Linked DNA regions of Homo sapiens: region 2 is linked to region 1. The links are contacts of gene promoters, found by promoter capture Hi-C in blood cells and fetal thymus (Javierre and others, 2016). All regions are on one chromosome and are shown on one strand. Each heading gives the region's core, a stretch centred on a gene start or on the middle of the fragment in contact. The rest is flanking DNA. Distances are from core to core; before and after follow the strand shown.

The links. The method cuts DNA at HindIII sites, captures the fragments that hold promoters and counts their contacts. A CHiCAGO score of 5 or more calls a contact.
Region 2: a contact is called between a fragment that was not itself captured here and the fragment with the promoter of GPC2 in region 1, in 2 of 17 cell types (endothelial precursors and total CD4 T cells). The highest score is 17.1, in endothelial precursors.

The regions. Positions count from the first base shown.
Region 1 is chr7:100,172,958-100,180,351 of GRCh38, reverse strand. It overlaps GPC2 (glypican 2), which reads left to right and starts at 2,971. Exons shown (of 10, transcript NM_152742.3): 1 at 2,971-3,318; 2 at 3,987-4,145; 3 at 4,458-4,780; 4 at 5,587-5,667; 5 at 6,355-6,517. The coding sequence starts at 3,153. STAG3 (STAG3 cohesin complex component) reads right to left here and starts at 2,434. Exons shown (of 34, transcript NM_001282717.2): 1 at 2,347-2,434. RefSeq lists silencers at 2,660-2,709, 2,890-3,009. The HindIII fragment of the contact is 8,320 bases long and covers 1-5,257 here.
Region 2 is chr7:67,304,186-67,311,579 of GRCh38, reverse strand. It overlaps the pseudogene STAG3L4. Among named protein-coding and RNA genes, the nearest start is that of LINC01372, 28 kb to the left of the region's middle. The HindIII fragment of the contact is 2,071 bases long and covers 3,825-5,895 here.

The sequences.
Region 1 (7,394 bases), core at 1,722-4,221:
ACCGTGGCTCATGCCTATAATCCCAGCACTTTGGGAGGCCAAGGCAGGAGGATGGCTTGAGCCCAGGAGTTCAAGACCAGCCTGGGCAATACAGCAAGACCCCATTTCTAAAAAAAAAATAATAATAATCATTAGTCAGGTGTGGTAGAGCATGCCTGTATTCAGCTATTCAGGAGGCTGAGGTGGGAGGATTGCTTGAGTCCAGGAGTTCAAGGCTGCAGTGAGCTACGATCGCACCACTGTACTCCATCCAGCTTGGGTGACAGAAGAAGACCCTGTCCCCCCTCAAAAAAATAGTAATGATAAATAAGACAAATGGCTGGGCACAGTGACTCATGCCTGTAATCCCAGCACTTTGGGAGGTCGAGGCAGGCAGATCACCTGAGGTCAGGGGTTCGAGACCAGCCTGACCAACATGGAGAAACCCCATTTCTACTAAAAATACAAAATTATCCGGGTGTGGTGGCATATGCCTGTAATTCCAGCTACTTGGGAGGCTGAGGCAGGAGAATCGCTTGAACCTAGAAGGCGGAGGTTGTGGTGAGCTGAGATCGTGCCACTGCACTCCAGCCTGGGCAACAAGAGTGAAACTCCATCTCAAAATAAATAAATAAATAAGACAAAGAGCTGACCTAAGGCATCAAGGGATTAAGCACAACAACACCCCAGAAACTGGCCAGCAGGTTTGGAGTTGCTCTCCAAAAGCTGAGGAAGTCACACACCAGGGTAGCTTCAGACACATCTCTCTCTAGAGGCTGTGGAAGTGCAAACTGCCTACTGCAAGGAAATTTAACTCATAGGTATTTTCTTTAAAAAAAAAAATTGCACACTGGGTGTGGTAGATCATACTTGTAATCCCAGAACTTTAGGCGGCTGAGGCGGGAGGACTGCTTGAGCCCAGTAGTTCAAGACCAATCTGGGCAACATAGCAAGACCCCATCTCTACAAAAAATAAGCAAAAACTAGCTAGGTGTTGTTGCGCACACCTGTGGTCCCAGCTACTCAGGAGGCTGAGACAGGAGGACTGCTTGAGCCCAGCAGTTTGAGACCAGCCTTGGCAACATGAGACACACCCAAAAAAAAAAAAACAAAACCCAAGCAAGGTACACACCAGGGCAGCTTCAGACACAGCCCTCTCTAGAGGCTTCAGAAGTGTAAACTGCCTGCTGCAAGGGAATTTAACTCATAATTAAAAAAAAAAAAAAAAAGGCAAGGTGCCCAGGGTGGCTCAAACCTGGAATCCCAGCACTTTGAGCAGCTGAAGCAGGAGGACTGCCTAACCCTACGAGTTCAAAATCAGTCTGGGCAATATAGCAAGATCCTGTCTCTACGAAAAAACCAAACCAAAACCAAAAAAACTAGCCAGGTGTGGTGGTGCACCTGTAGTCCCAGCTACTCGGCAGAATGAAGCGGGACGATCGCCTGAGCCCAGGAGGTCGAGGCTGCAGCGAGCTATGACTGCACCACTGCACTCCAGCCTGGGAAACAGAGCGAGACTCTGTCTCAAAAAAAAAAAAAAGTAATGACAAATAAATAAAATAAGGCAAAGAGTGGACCTAAAGCACCAAGGGATTACAGACACCAGAAACTGGGCAGTGGGTTTGGAATTGCTCTCCAAAAGCCGAGGCGTGGTGCACAGTGCTCCCGCCTATAATCCCAGTACTTTGGGAGGGCGAAGCGGGAGCATCGCTTGGGTCCAGGAATTCAAGATCAGCCTGGGCCACATAGCAACGCCCTGTCTCTAAAAAAAAAAAATTAAATGGAAAAAAAAAAAAAAGCCAAGCAAGGCAGACAGCAGGGCAGCTTCAGACGCACCCCTCTCTGGAGGCTTCGGAAGTATAAACCGCCCTCTGCAAGGGAACTTACAGGTTTTTTAAAATGAAATAAAAAAAATAAAGAAAGAAATAAGAAAAAAAATACAAGAAGACCCCAGGCTTTCGTTTCCAGAGGACTAGCACCTGATTCCACCTGGAATGGAACAGGAGGCTCTTAAGGATTTGGGGGTGGAGGCGCCATGAGAATAGGGCTGGAAACGCAAAAGGAGGAAAGGCAGGTGCGCGTTTCCTATTTTTCCAGAAGGTAAAAATATCTACGACTGCCCCTGGGGTAAGCGGCTCCAGGATAAAGAGCCTTCCAAGCGCTTAAGAGAATGGACTCTCAGTCTATGGAGGCCTGGGGAGAGGATTCTCCAGCTCTGTGGCGGAGGCCATTGGGGCACGGCCCGGGAAGGCTCCTAGTGTCAGGGCCGGGAGGGTCGCGAGAGGGCCTATTCTTGGGTCAAGGAGAAACCTGTCAGAGCCTGGAAGAGTGACTTCTGGCCGAGCAGGGTTCAGGGAAGGTCCCCACCTCAGGTCCCTCGGGTGTCTCTGGCCACCCCACCTTCCACACAGGCGCCCGCCGCTGCCCTTCCGGGGGCGAAAGATTCCAGAAAAGCGCGGGAACGTACAAGACACGCTGTGCGCAAGCGCAATCCCAACGGCTCGCCCAGGGCCAGTAGCTATCGCGAGGTTTGGAAGTGTGCGAGCTGATGCGCGCCACGTTTGAGTCACGCCGCTCCACAGCCTCGTGTGGCCTCAAGCTCTCAGGCGTCCTGCCCTCTCACGTGGGCTTGGGCACGCGGGCGGCCCGCTTTAGCCCCGCCCCCACCCAGGTCCCACCCCCGCTACCCTCAATCTCCTACTCCATTGGGCGGGTTTTGGACCAGACTGCTAGTAACCCCTTTAATCTGGCTTCTCAATTGCCATAGGCTAGGTTCCACCCAGGCCCCGCCTTTTGAGCCGGATCGCCACGCCCCCGAGGGAGACCACGCCCCTATTTCACCAACCTCCTGAGTGCCAGCCGGGTCCCGCCCCCCTGCCGAGCTTCCGCGCTACATTGGCTTAATTTCTTCCTTGCCCCCGCCCCTGAAGCCGGCTCCGAGCCATTATTGGCGGGGCCCCGCCTCGGGCCCCGCCCCCTGTCCGGCTCCCCGCTCCCATTGTCTCGGCAGATGCCGCCTGGTCCAGCTATCGTGCTCGGTATTCAGTTTTCCGGAGCAGCGCTCTTTCTCTGGCCCGCGGAGCGGTCCCGCGGCCGAGTACCGGATTCCCGAGTTTGGGAGGCTCTGCTTTCCTCCTTAGGACCCACTTTGCCGTCCTGGGGTGGCTGCAGTTATGTCCGCGCTGCGACCTCTCCTGCTTCTGCTGCTGCCTCTGTGTCCCGGTCCTGGTCCCGGACCCGGGAGCGAGGCAAAGGTCACCCGGAGTTGTGCAGAGACCCGGCAGGTGCTGGGGGCCCGGGGATATAGCTTAAACCTAATCCCTCCCGCCCTGATCTCAGGTGAGGAGAAAGAGGAAGACTAGAGAATTGGGGGTGGGGGGCGGGGGCGGGGCCTCCTCATCTCACAATAACTCTCTTCCTTTTCAGAGTGACCGTTATACTAATCTTTTCATCCCACAGTAATGTCTGTTCTCCTCCTGTAACTTCCTTACCGGGATCACAATAACCCTCCTATGCAAAGAATAGCGCTCTTACTCCATCCCCACCCCAGGAATCCCCTCCTCCTAATTAACACCCCCTATGTGTTTCTTTCTTCACAGCCATGTTCTCCTCGCTGTTTCTATTAGCCCCTTCTATGAGAATACTTTATTGCTCACCAAGTAACCCCACCCTTCCAAGCCCCATTCTTCATCCCCTAGAAGCTGTTCTCCAAGTCCCTCGAGGTCTGGGGTGTGGACATTGGGGAGGGTCACCTGAGGACACTCTGACCACTGACTTGGCCCTCAGGGCAGCTGTTAAATAGATGATCCCGTGGCTAATGGGAGTGAACTTGGGATGGGTCAGGAGACAATAAGGTAGGGGATAGGTTCAGGTAGGGAAGAGGGTGCAGACAATAGAAAAGAGACCAGGCAGGTAGAAGAGAAGGCATAGTCCCCAGAGATAGGCGGGAAATGGAAGGGATTTTAGGATATCACTTCCCACCATTCCTTCACGTCTCCTCTGTCCAGGTGAGCACCTCCGGGTCTGTCCCCAGGAGTACACCTGCTGTTCCAGTGAGACAGAGCAGAGGCTGATCAGGGAGACTGAGGCCACCTTCCGAGGCCTGGTGGAGGACAGCGGCTCCTTTCTGGTTCACACACTGGCTGCCAGGCACAGAAAATTTGATGGTGAGGACCTGGGGTCCCCAAACTCAGCTTCACAGCTCCTCTCGGTGCTTAGGACCCCAGCAAGGCTCCTGTCCCCACTCCTTACTCCATCTGTGAAGACTCCATCCCCTCCCAGCCCGCCCACCCCCCAGACTCTGTCTCCAGGGCCCTGCCCTCCCCCATTCCCTGTCTGCCCCATCTCTGAGAGTTACTCAGTTTCTGATTCACTTGTCTTTTCTCTTCTCTCCCATCTCCTCCTGCCTCTGCCTGTTCACTTTTCTCCCCATTCTTTGGCCTGACCTGCCTTCCACCTGTTCCCTGCATTTGCTGCAGAGTTTTTTCTGGAGATGCTCTCAGTAGCCCAGCACTCTCTGACCCAGCTCTTCTCCCACTCCTACGGCCGCCTGTATGCCCAGCACGCCCTCATATTCAATGGCCTGTTCTCTCGGCTGCGAGACTTCTATGGGGAATCTGGTGAGGGGTTGGATGACACCCTGGCGGATTTCTGGGCACAGCTCCTGGAGAGAGTGTTCCCGCTGCTGCACCCACAGTACAGCTTCCCCCCTGACTACCTGCTCTGCCTCTCACGCTTGGCCTCATCTACCGATGGCTCTCTGCAGCCCTTTGGGGACTCACCCCGCCGCCTCCGCCTGCAGGTGAGGGATCCTGAGGCCTGAGCTTCAACCACTTCTGACCTAGTGACCCCTGAACTGTGCACCACTCACCTCCAAACTGGCGTGCTCCAGTCACCTCTGACCTGGTGATCCCCCATCCTGCATTGAAGCCATTTCTGACCTGGTGATCCCTATCCTGAGCTTTACTCACCACTGCCCGACCCAGTGCCCCTTGGTCTTCTTGAAGCAGATGCCCCCACCCCTGCCACCTCCCATTCTGAGCCCTAGTTTCACACAAACACTCACCTGCCCTTAGCCTCCAGCCACCTTTGTGCCAACCCCTTCCTAATCGTAACACCTTGACTTCCTCTGGTTCAACTAAACAGGAATTGTGCATTCAATACGCAAAAGGCATTTTCTTTTATAGTATCACATTTAGTTGTCATCATAACCCTGTGAGGTAGACAGTCATGCCCTTATTTTACAGATGAGAAAACTGAGGCTCCCAGAGATTAAGCTTTTCAGCCAGTAAGTGGCAGAGCCGTGGCTCACACCCAGGTCTTCTGGCTTCAAGTTCAGTGTTAGTTCCGATACACAATTTCTCTCTCTCTAAGCCCTGTACAACATAATCCCTCCATCTCTTCCCAAGCCTTCCTTTGTTTTTCTTTAAGACTATAATTCCTGTGGGGGCTCTTGAACCTGCCTCTCTGTACCACCCAACACTCGACCCACTCTGAGAGAACCCCACACACCCAACCCTCACTGCTCTTGATGCAGTCTCTTGGCTCCAGTCTTGACTGACCCATAACAACCTTGTGGTTTTTCTCACCTTCTTTGCCTTCTCCCAGATAACCCGGACCCTGGTGGCTGCCCGAGCCTTTGTGCAGGGCCTGGAGACTGGAAGAAATGTGGTCAGCGAAGCGCTTAAGGTTGGAGGGTGCCTGAGTATGGGCAGGGCCCAGGGAGGGAGAGGTGGAAGTGAGAGAGACCCCACAAGGAAGAAACAGCCACCAGCCAGCAGGACAGGCCTTGGGCTCTGTCTGCCTCCAGGCCCTGGTGTCCTAGGATGAATTAGGAAGGAGGGGGCTGGAGTGAAACCTCCAATGGTCCACGATCCATGATCTCTGACCCCCTCCTCCCCTCTGTGGACCCATACCCTCCTCAGTCCCCAAGGGCCTGCTCATCTCCATAGCAGTAGGAGATTGGATACTGCCCCCGCCCAACCCCCCAGGATCCCTCAATGACTCCACTTCCCTGCTGCTGAAGGCCAGATGCCTGGCTTGGCCTCTCTCACTGCCCATCCTCTACCTGACCTCCCAGCCTCACCTTCTGCCTCCTGACCGCCTCCTCCCTCCCCAGCTGTGATGGGCTCACTCTTGTCCTTGAATGTTCCCTCCACCCCTAACTGCCTCTCTATTTCCACCCCTCCCACGAATCAGAGTCAGCAACCTGGAACCTCCCTCCTCAGATCTGTGACAATCTCACCTGCTGCCACGTGGGGTCACCAACCCTAGGTGTAGGGTGGGGTATGTGATTTCTGTCTGTGCCCAGCACCAAGCCAGGCTGAGAGCAGCCACAGCGTTTGTGGAGGACACAGCCCCACTCTCTGCCCCCAGGTGCCGGTGTCTGAAGGCTGCAGCCAGGCTCTGATGCGTCTCATCGGCTGTCCCCTGTGCCGGGGGGTCCCCTCACTTATGCCCTGCCAGGGCTTCTGCCTCAACGTGGTTCGTGGCTGTCTCAGCAGCAGGGGACTGGAGCCTGACTGGGGCAACTATCTGGGTGAGGGGATTCAAGAAAGCCTGGAGCCAGGCATGGTGGCTCACACCTGTAATCACAGCACTTTGAGAGGCTGAGGCAGGAGGATCACTTGAGGCCAGGAGTTGGAGCCCAGCTGGGGCAACATAGCTAGACGTCATCTCAAGAAAGAAAGAGAGAGAGAGAAAGAAAGAGAGAGAGAGAGACAGAGAAAGAAAGAAGGAAAGAAGGAAGGAAAGAAAGAAAAAGAAAGAAAGAAAGAAAGAAAAGAAAGAAATCAGCCAGGCATGGTAGCGCCCGCGCCTGTAGTCCCAGTTACTCCTGAGGCTGAGGCAGGAGGATCACTTGAGGCCAGGAGTTGGAGGCCAGCCTGGGCAACGTAGCTAGACCGCATCTCTACCAAAAAAAAAAAAAAGAAAGAAATTATCAGGCATGGTGGCACACATGCCTGTTGTCCCAGTTACTCCAGAGGCTGAGGCAGGAGGCTCCCTTGATCCCAGGAGTTAGAGGCTGCAGTAAGCTATGATGATGCCACTATACTCCAACCTGGGCGAGAGAGTAAGACCCTGTCTAAAAAAATCCTAAAATTGGCCAGGCACGGTGGCTCACGCTTGTAATCCTAGCACTTTGGGAGGCGGAGGCAGGCGGATCACAAGGACAGGTCAGGAGTTCAAGACCAGCTTGGCCGGCTGGGCATGATGGCTCATGCCTGTAATCCCAGCACTTTGGGAGGCCGAGGTGGGTGGATCAAGAGGTCAGGAGTTCGAGACCAGCCTGGCTAACATGGTGAAACCCCATCTCTACTAAAAATACAAAAATTAGCCAGGCGTGGTGGCATGCACCTGTAGTCCCAGCTACTTGGGACGCTGAGGCAGAAGAATCACTTGAACCCGGGAGGCAG
Region 2 (7,394 bases), core at 3,611-6,110, about 33 Mb after region 1:
CAATATTCACTTTATTGTGGTGATCTGGAACTGAACCTGCAAGATCTTCCAGGTATGATGCCCGTATATGTTTCTAACAATTTGGAAAACAAATTTTTAGTAAGTGCAGTTTGTTTAATAGTAGTGGAACCAGCAAAAATAAGAAGAAAGGAATTAGATCAGTGGTTCTCAACTGAGGCTAATTCTGTTCCCCAGGGGAGATTTAGCAGTGTCTAAAGATTTTTTTGGCTACCTGAACTTGGTGGGGGAGCAGGGTACTACTGGTATCTATCTAGTAGATAAAGGCCAGAGATGCTGCTAAACATCCCACCACGGCAGGACAGCCCCGCAATGTCCGTAGTGCCATTGTTGAAAAATCCTGGATCACATGAACAATAGACACCAAAGAACCAGAATTATAAGGAGAAAGGGAACATTCTTTAAGACAACAGACCCCACCTCTTCAATTATGTAAGAACAACATATCATTTTCGACAAGACATACTTAAGTCTTTACGGCTGAAGTACCTATATGTCCATATTTTACAGTAACATAGCAAAAACAGGTGAAGCAAATATGTGAAATATTTGGGAAAGGGAGACTGAGAAAAGGCTACTGGCTTTAGGAATTAGGAAGTCATTGGTTTGGAAAGAACAGTTTCAAAGAAAAATGGGAAAATAAGCTAGGTAGCAAAAAGGATTCAGTTAGTTGGACATTAAGGAAGTAAGGAAATACTACCCTAAAAGGAAGGATGGAAAAAAAGAGTAATTCACAGAGGAGCAGAGTCAAATAAAGATTCAAGAGCCTATATACATTTATAAGTGGAGAGAAGAAAATAGTGGGGAGGAAGAAATTAAGGATAAAATGGGGGAATTACAATGATAATTGACTAAGCAAGAGCCCAGAGAAGCCAAAAAAAAAAGAAAGAATAAGAAAAATAAAAGAAAGATTCACAGTGTACATAATTTAAAATCCAGGATAGATTAATACACATAAGCTTTTAAGATCAAACTGACAATTAAAAATAACAAAAGAGAATGAGAGAAGTAGAAAGTTTCCTTCTCTAATGATTTAGAATGGAAGAGACCTTTTGTGAGGGCTAGAGAAATAGCCAAATGATATGGTCAGACATGGTGAGTCCTGCCAACCTCATAGGAGGGGTCTCAGACACTAACAGAAAGTAAGGAGAAAAACAGTAGTGTTACTCTTATGACAGACCCAGCTGATTAAAGATTTCATCAGTGTCAAAGATTTTGCTATGGCTTATGCCCTCCAGTGGTCATCTTTAAGTTTAAAAGGAAACAAAACTACTATGTGCCAAGTGAGGCAATTTACTCATCATCTCATTTATTCTTCACAAAAAGGTGAGATTATCCCTTTCTTTAAAGAAAAGAAAACTGAAGAGAGGTTACATAAGGCTATGGAGCTAGTGACTAAATGGAACAGAATTTAAAGCCAGGAGTTCACTGGAAGGCCTGTGCTCTTTCCATTCCTTGAAAATTTGGCCTCCCTTGTCAATGGTTGGCTTTTAGTACTCCTGCGGTCACTTGCACACTGCACACTTGACGAGTAGGTCAAAACTTAATTCCTTGCATGACAGGCAGGTACAGCACTTAAACTCTTCTGACAATAAGTGCTGACAAAGAAAAACTGAGCAAAAGTGGAATTCGAGAGAACTCTAAATTACACATTATTTGTTGAGCCCACAACCCAGAAAAAAGGTGAGCATTGCAATGAGCCCTTACAGGATGGGTCTATGAAACTATTGCCAGACTCCGTTATTCATGATCTTGAAAGACTGCCCAGGGCCTGATAAGGGGGTCTGTGGCAGAAGTGGGTGCAAGTTGGGAAAAAGGGAAGGAAGAAGCAGGGAACACTCCTCACCTCTTTGTGTTTCTCCAACAGGCTCTCCAGCCGCTCAGGTGCCCTCTGCCCTGGCCCCTTGTTTCTTTCAGCCTCATACTGACGCTGATTGATATCTTCGTGCAGACTCAGTTGGAGGGCAACTCTTACCAGGGAGGTCATCAGTTTCATAGCTTTGAGTAAGGAAAAAGAGATAAAGAAATCATTACTGAGGTCAGAGGAGAGAGGATGAGTAGAAGGAAAAATAGAAGGAAAGAAGGGCAATAAAAATGAGAAGCCAGAGGTAGGTGACCCTAAAATCCTGACTGCCTGTCCTGGAGTGGACTGTTTCCCTCTAACCCTTGTGGTCTTCTTTTAACCATCAGCATACCCTAGTGGTGAGCTCTGACAAAAATACTAAGCCTGGAAATTGTTGCTGTGATCTACCCCTTCTCAAAACTCCACCAGTGAGAAACTGGATTGAAGTTTAGGATAAAAGAGGCATGGCCTTGAAGTGAAGAGCCAAGACACAGGTAGGAAAGAAGACCCTGAATCAGAGAACAGAGGAAAGTCCTATAAATCCCCAGAAGAATGTCCGGAATGAAAATGAATGCTCACCAGCCAGGGTGCTAGTGTGACAGAAGGCGCAGACTTGTGAGTCTGAGAAGCCAGTGAGCAGGGAGATGAGGTTGTCCATAGGGAAGTCATCATGGAGGAGGATGTACTGGCACCGACAGACCAATGTCCCCACAAACTCACAGAAGCTGCCCTGGAACTTCTTCCAGGATAGACCTGGAGCTGTCAGAGGATAGTCCCCCGAGTCCTACAAAAGGATGTATGAAAAGGATGGGAAAGTTATGACCAGGTATATGAAGTCATAGGGGCTTGGATGTCAAAACCCAACAGTCTAGTAAAAATATCTGTTATGCTTCATTTCCTAGCTGTCTCCCCAGTTTGAGAGGCATATTCAGATCTCTTTTACCCCCAAGAGACTGAACTCCACCTTCTAAAAGCTACCCTATTTCACAGAATCAAAAAGAAGGGGATAATAGGCATTGTGTTTTGAAATAAGAGGGGTAAGAGGATCCTGGTCATCTTCTTCCACCTCATTAAACGCTCTGTTAGGTGCTGGATGATCTCTGAGTTGGACATCTTCTTGAACATCTCAGGGCTCACAGTGCCTAAAGAATGAAGGATATGAGGTGCTTACGAGGAAAATAACAGGATGCTGTGATCATTTACAGATATACCTGAATATGAGCAAGGAAACACTGTGCAAAGAGCTTAGGTGGGGAATCAAAAGACCCCCTGGTCAACGGTCTGCCAACATCCAACTGTGTATCTGCTATAAGGCAATCTCTCTAAAAACCCAAAGGAAGGGAGCCATAGGTTATGGTGTAGACACGGCCAAATCCAAAAACCACACCTCACACAACCAGGCTGAAAATTACACAGAAATGGCATCAAGAAACCCCAATCACAAAGATACAACTCTCTTAAGGGGATGGACCCCAAGTTCCTGAGGAATATGTGCTTTGCCAAGAAGCACAACAAGAAGGGCCTAAAGAAGATGCAGGCTGGCCGGGCGCAGTCGGTCAAGCCTGTAATCCCAGCACTTTGGGAGGCCGAGGCAGGAGAATCACAAGGTCAGGAATTCTAGACCAGCCTGGCCAACATGATGAAACCCAGTTCTCTACTAAAAATGGAAAAAATGAGCTGGGCGTAGTGGCGGGTGCCTGTAATCCCAGCTACTCGGGAGGCTGAGGCAGGAGAATTGCTTCAACCCGGGAGGCAGAGGTTGCAGTGAGCTGAGATCGCACTACTGCACTCCAGCCTGGGCAACAAGTGAGACTCTGTCTCAAAACAAAAAAAGCAAAACAAAAAAAAAAAGAAGATGCAGGGCAACAATGCCAGGGTCATGGGTGTACATGCCGAGGCTATCGAGCCCCTCGTAAAGCCCAAGGACGTTAAGCCCACTTGCCTACACTGCCCACCCCAAGCTTGAGAAGCATGCTTGTGCCCACAATGCCAAGGGGCTCAGACTGTACCAGCCAAAGGCCAAGGATCAAATGAAGGCCCAGGCTGCAGCTCCAGCTTCAGTTCCAGCTCAGGCTCCCAAAGGTGCCCAGGCCTGTACAAAGGCTTCAGAGTAGAGATCTCTGTCTGCCAACGTGAGGACAGAAGGACTGGTGTCCTCCTGCACTATTTGTACAAATAAACCTGAGGCAGGATTTGTTTAAAAAAAAAAAAGGAATCAAGCAGTGAAAAACTGTGCCCCAAAATAAACAACAACAAAACAACAACAACAACAAAACAGGCCAGGCGCGATGGCTAACGCCTGTAATCCCAACACTTTGGGAGGCCGAGGCAGGTGAATCACCTGAGGTCAGGAGTACAAGACCAGCCTGGCGAAACCCCATCTCTACTAAAAATACAAAAATTAGCCACGTAGGCCGGGCGCAGTGGCTCAAGCCTGTAATCCCAGCACTTTGGGAGGGTGAGATGGGCGGATCACGAGGTCAGGAGTTCAAGACCAGCCTGGCCAATATGGTGAAACCCTGTCTCTACTAAAAATACAAAAATTAGCTAGGCATGGTGGTGCACACCTGTAGTCCCAGCTACTCAGGAGGCTGTGGCAGAAGAATCACTTGAACCTGGGATGCGGAGGTTGCGGTGAGCCGAGATTGTGCCACTGGACTCCAGCCTGGGCGACAGAGCCAGACTCCGTCTCAAAGAAAAAAAAAAAAATTAGCCACATATGGTGGCACATGCTTGTAATCCCAGCCACTTGAGAGGCTGAGGCATGAGAATCACTTAAACCCAGGATGTAGAGGTTGCAGTGAGCCCAGATCGTGCCACTGCACTCCAGCCTGGACAATCGAGTGAGATTCTGTCTCAAAAACAAAAACAAAAACAAAACAAAACAAAACAAAAGAGAGTAATAAAACTAAGCCAGACGCTGATTTCTTATATAATACAACCTGACTGAGACCATCTGTCCCAATAAATCAAGCCATGGCAGTAAGAGTTCTGGGGGTACCACAGCTACAGAGGAGAAATATGGGCAAAGTAGCTGGGAAATAAAGAGTAAGAAAATAACAGATTATTGCATCTAGAAAGACTAAAAGGTGTCCTCAAATTTGTGCCATAACATAAGCATGATTACTTCTTTTTCCCCAAAGTTTCTTGTCTCTAAACCAACATGGTTCCCTACTGGATCACTTCCCGTATTTATCAACAAAAAATTTAGTTAAAGAAGTGAAACTTTTCTCTCTCTTTTTTTTTTTTTTGAAGACAGTCTGGCTCTGTCGCCCAGGTTGGAGTGCAGTGGCGCTATCCAGGCTCACTATAACCTCCACCTCCTGGGTTCAAGCAATTCTACAGGCATGAGCCACATACCCAGATAATTTTTTGTATTTTAGTAGGGGTTTCACCATGTTGCCCAGGCTGGTCTTCAACTCCTGACCTCAAGTGATCCACCCGCCTCAGCTTCCCAAAGTGCTGGGATTACAGGTGTGAGTCACAGTGCCCAGCCTAAATAAGTAAAATTTTTCTAATGCTTTACTATCTTCCTTTATTTAGGAAATATCTAATCCTACTTATCTAAATGGAGAAAGAATTCATAACATAGGAACAAAAGGCTGGGAATTAGAAAGGGGGAGCAGTTTCCTCACCTTTACATCCACAAGATCAGATGAAAAAGTTAACAAGCTCCAGAAATCCTGCATCCTGGTCTTGCTTGTAGCTATCCAGCCACTCATCTACCAAAGACTAGTAAAAAAAAAATACAGATGACTTCTACTTCTGGCAATATAACAGAACAGAAATCCTATATGATCTTCCCAGTTGAACCATCTAAACTTCTGTAAAACATTTAAAACATCTTTCACAATGTACTGGTGAACTAGAATGAAAGGTAAAATTTCATATAGTCCAAAAATGAGGTGTAGTAGCAACCCTGGGAGGTAAGCAAACTGACTTTTGCCCTAAAGGTTTCATTAATCCCTGGGGACCCTGACTTTGTATCCAGATGGCTGCATGGAGTGCAGAGCACAGGAGGTAGAGTCTAAGCTTCTTCCAAGACGAGTAGTCCAAGAGGAGGCACCTAAATAAAGCTGGGTCCTGCAAAGAGTCACATCCTCAAGGAAGTGAGATTGAACACTAAACCTATAGGGCAGATGGCGACAGCAAGAAAACTAGCTTGTTATGACCTGAGGGTGCAGTGGAGGGGAAAAAAAATAACTCCTCCTTGAGAATTCATAACCATAGTGAGCGCTCAGATCTGGATTTGCAGTCAAGATTCATACCACATACATGATCAGAATAATCTTTTTTATCTTTTCCTTTTGTTTTTTTTTTTTTTTGAGACAGTCTCACTCTGTAGCCCAAGCTAGAGCGCAATGGCGAGATCTCAGCTCACTACAACCTCCACCTCCCAGGTTCAAGCATTCTCCTGCTTCAGCCTCCCGAGTAGCTGGGATTACAGGTATGTGCCACCACGCCTGGCTAATGGCTAATTTTTGTATTTTTAGTAGACACAGGGTTTCACCATATTGGCCAGGCTGGTCTCGAACTCCTGACCTCAAGTGAGGCCCACCTTAGCCTCCCAAAGTGCTTGGATTATAGGCATGAGCCACCACACCCAGCCCAGAATAATCATTCAGATAATTAAAAGTGATTCAGGCTGGGAGCAGTAACCCAAGTAAAGTGAAACTCATGTTGCCCAGGCTGGTCTACCAAAAACAGAATAATTAGTCAGGCATGGTGGCACATGCCTATAGTCCCAGCTATGCGAGAAGCTGAGGTGGGAGGGTCACCACCTTGCCACTGAGGGAGGTCAAATCAGCAGGGAGCCGTGATAGCACCACTGCACTCCAGCCTAGAAAGAATGAGAACCTGTCTCAAAAAAAAAAAAAAAAGAAAAGAAAAGTGATTCTGGAGTGTCCCCAGGCAACTGTCAAAGCAACAGCACGTTCCTCTCTTGAAAACCCACCTTTGGGGCCAGGCGCGGTGGCTCACACCTGTAATCCCAGCACTTTGGGAGGCCGAGGCAGGCGGATCATGAGGTCAGGAGATCGAGACCATCCTGGCTAACATGGTGAAACCCCATCTCTACTAAAAATACAAAAATTTAGCCAGCATGGTTGCAGGTGCCTGTAGTCCCAGCTATTCGGGAGGCTGAGGCAGGAGAATGGCCTGAACCCGGGAGGCGGAGCTTGCAGTGAGCAGAGATCACACCACTGCACTCCAGCCTGGGTGACAGAGCGAGACTCGGTCTCAAAAAAAAAAAAACCCACCTTTGACCTAGGCCCCAAAGAACTCCAGGGAAAATGAGTGGCTCACAATAAACCTAGTAAAACATATAAAGAAACAAGGCACTGACAAAATTATTTCACAAACACTTTAGATAATCATCTATCATAGATTATAAAATGACTATGTTTAATAAAATTTTAAAAATAAAACAGGGAGAGAATGGGCTCAAAAAAAGAAATAAAAGGCCAGGCATGGTGGCTCGCACCTGTAATCCCAGCACTTTGGAAGGCTGAGGCGGGTGGATCATGAGGTCAAG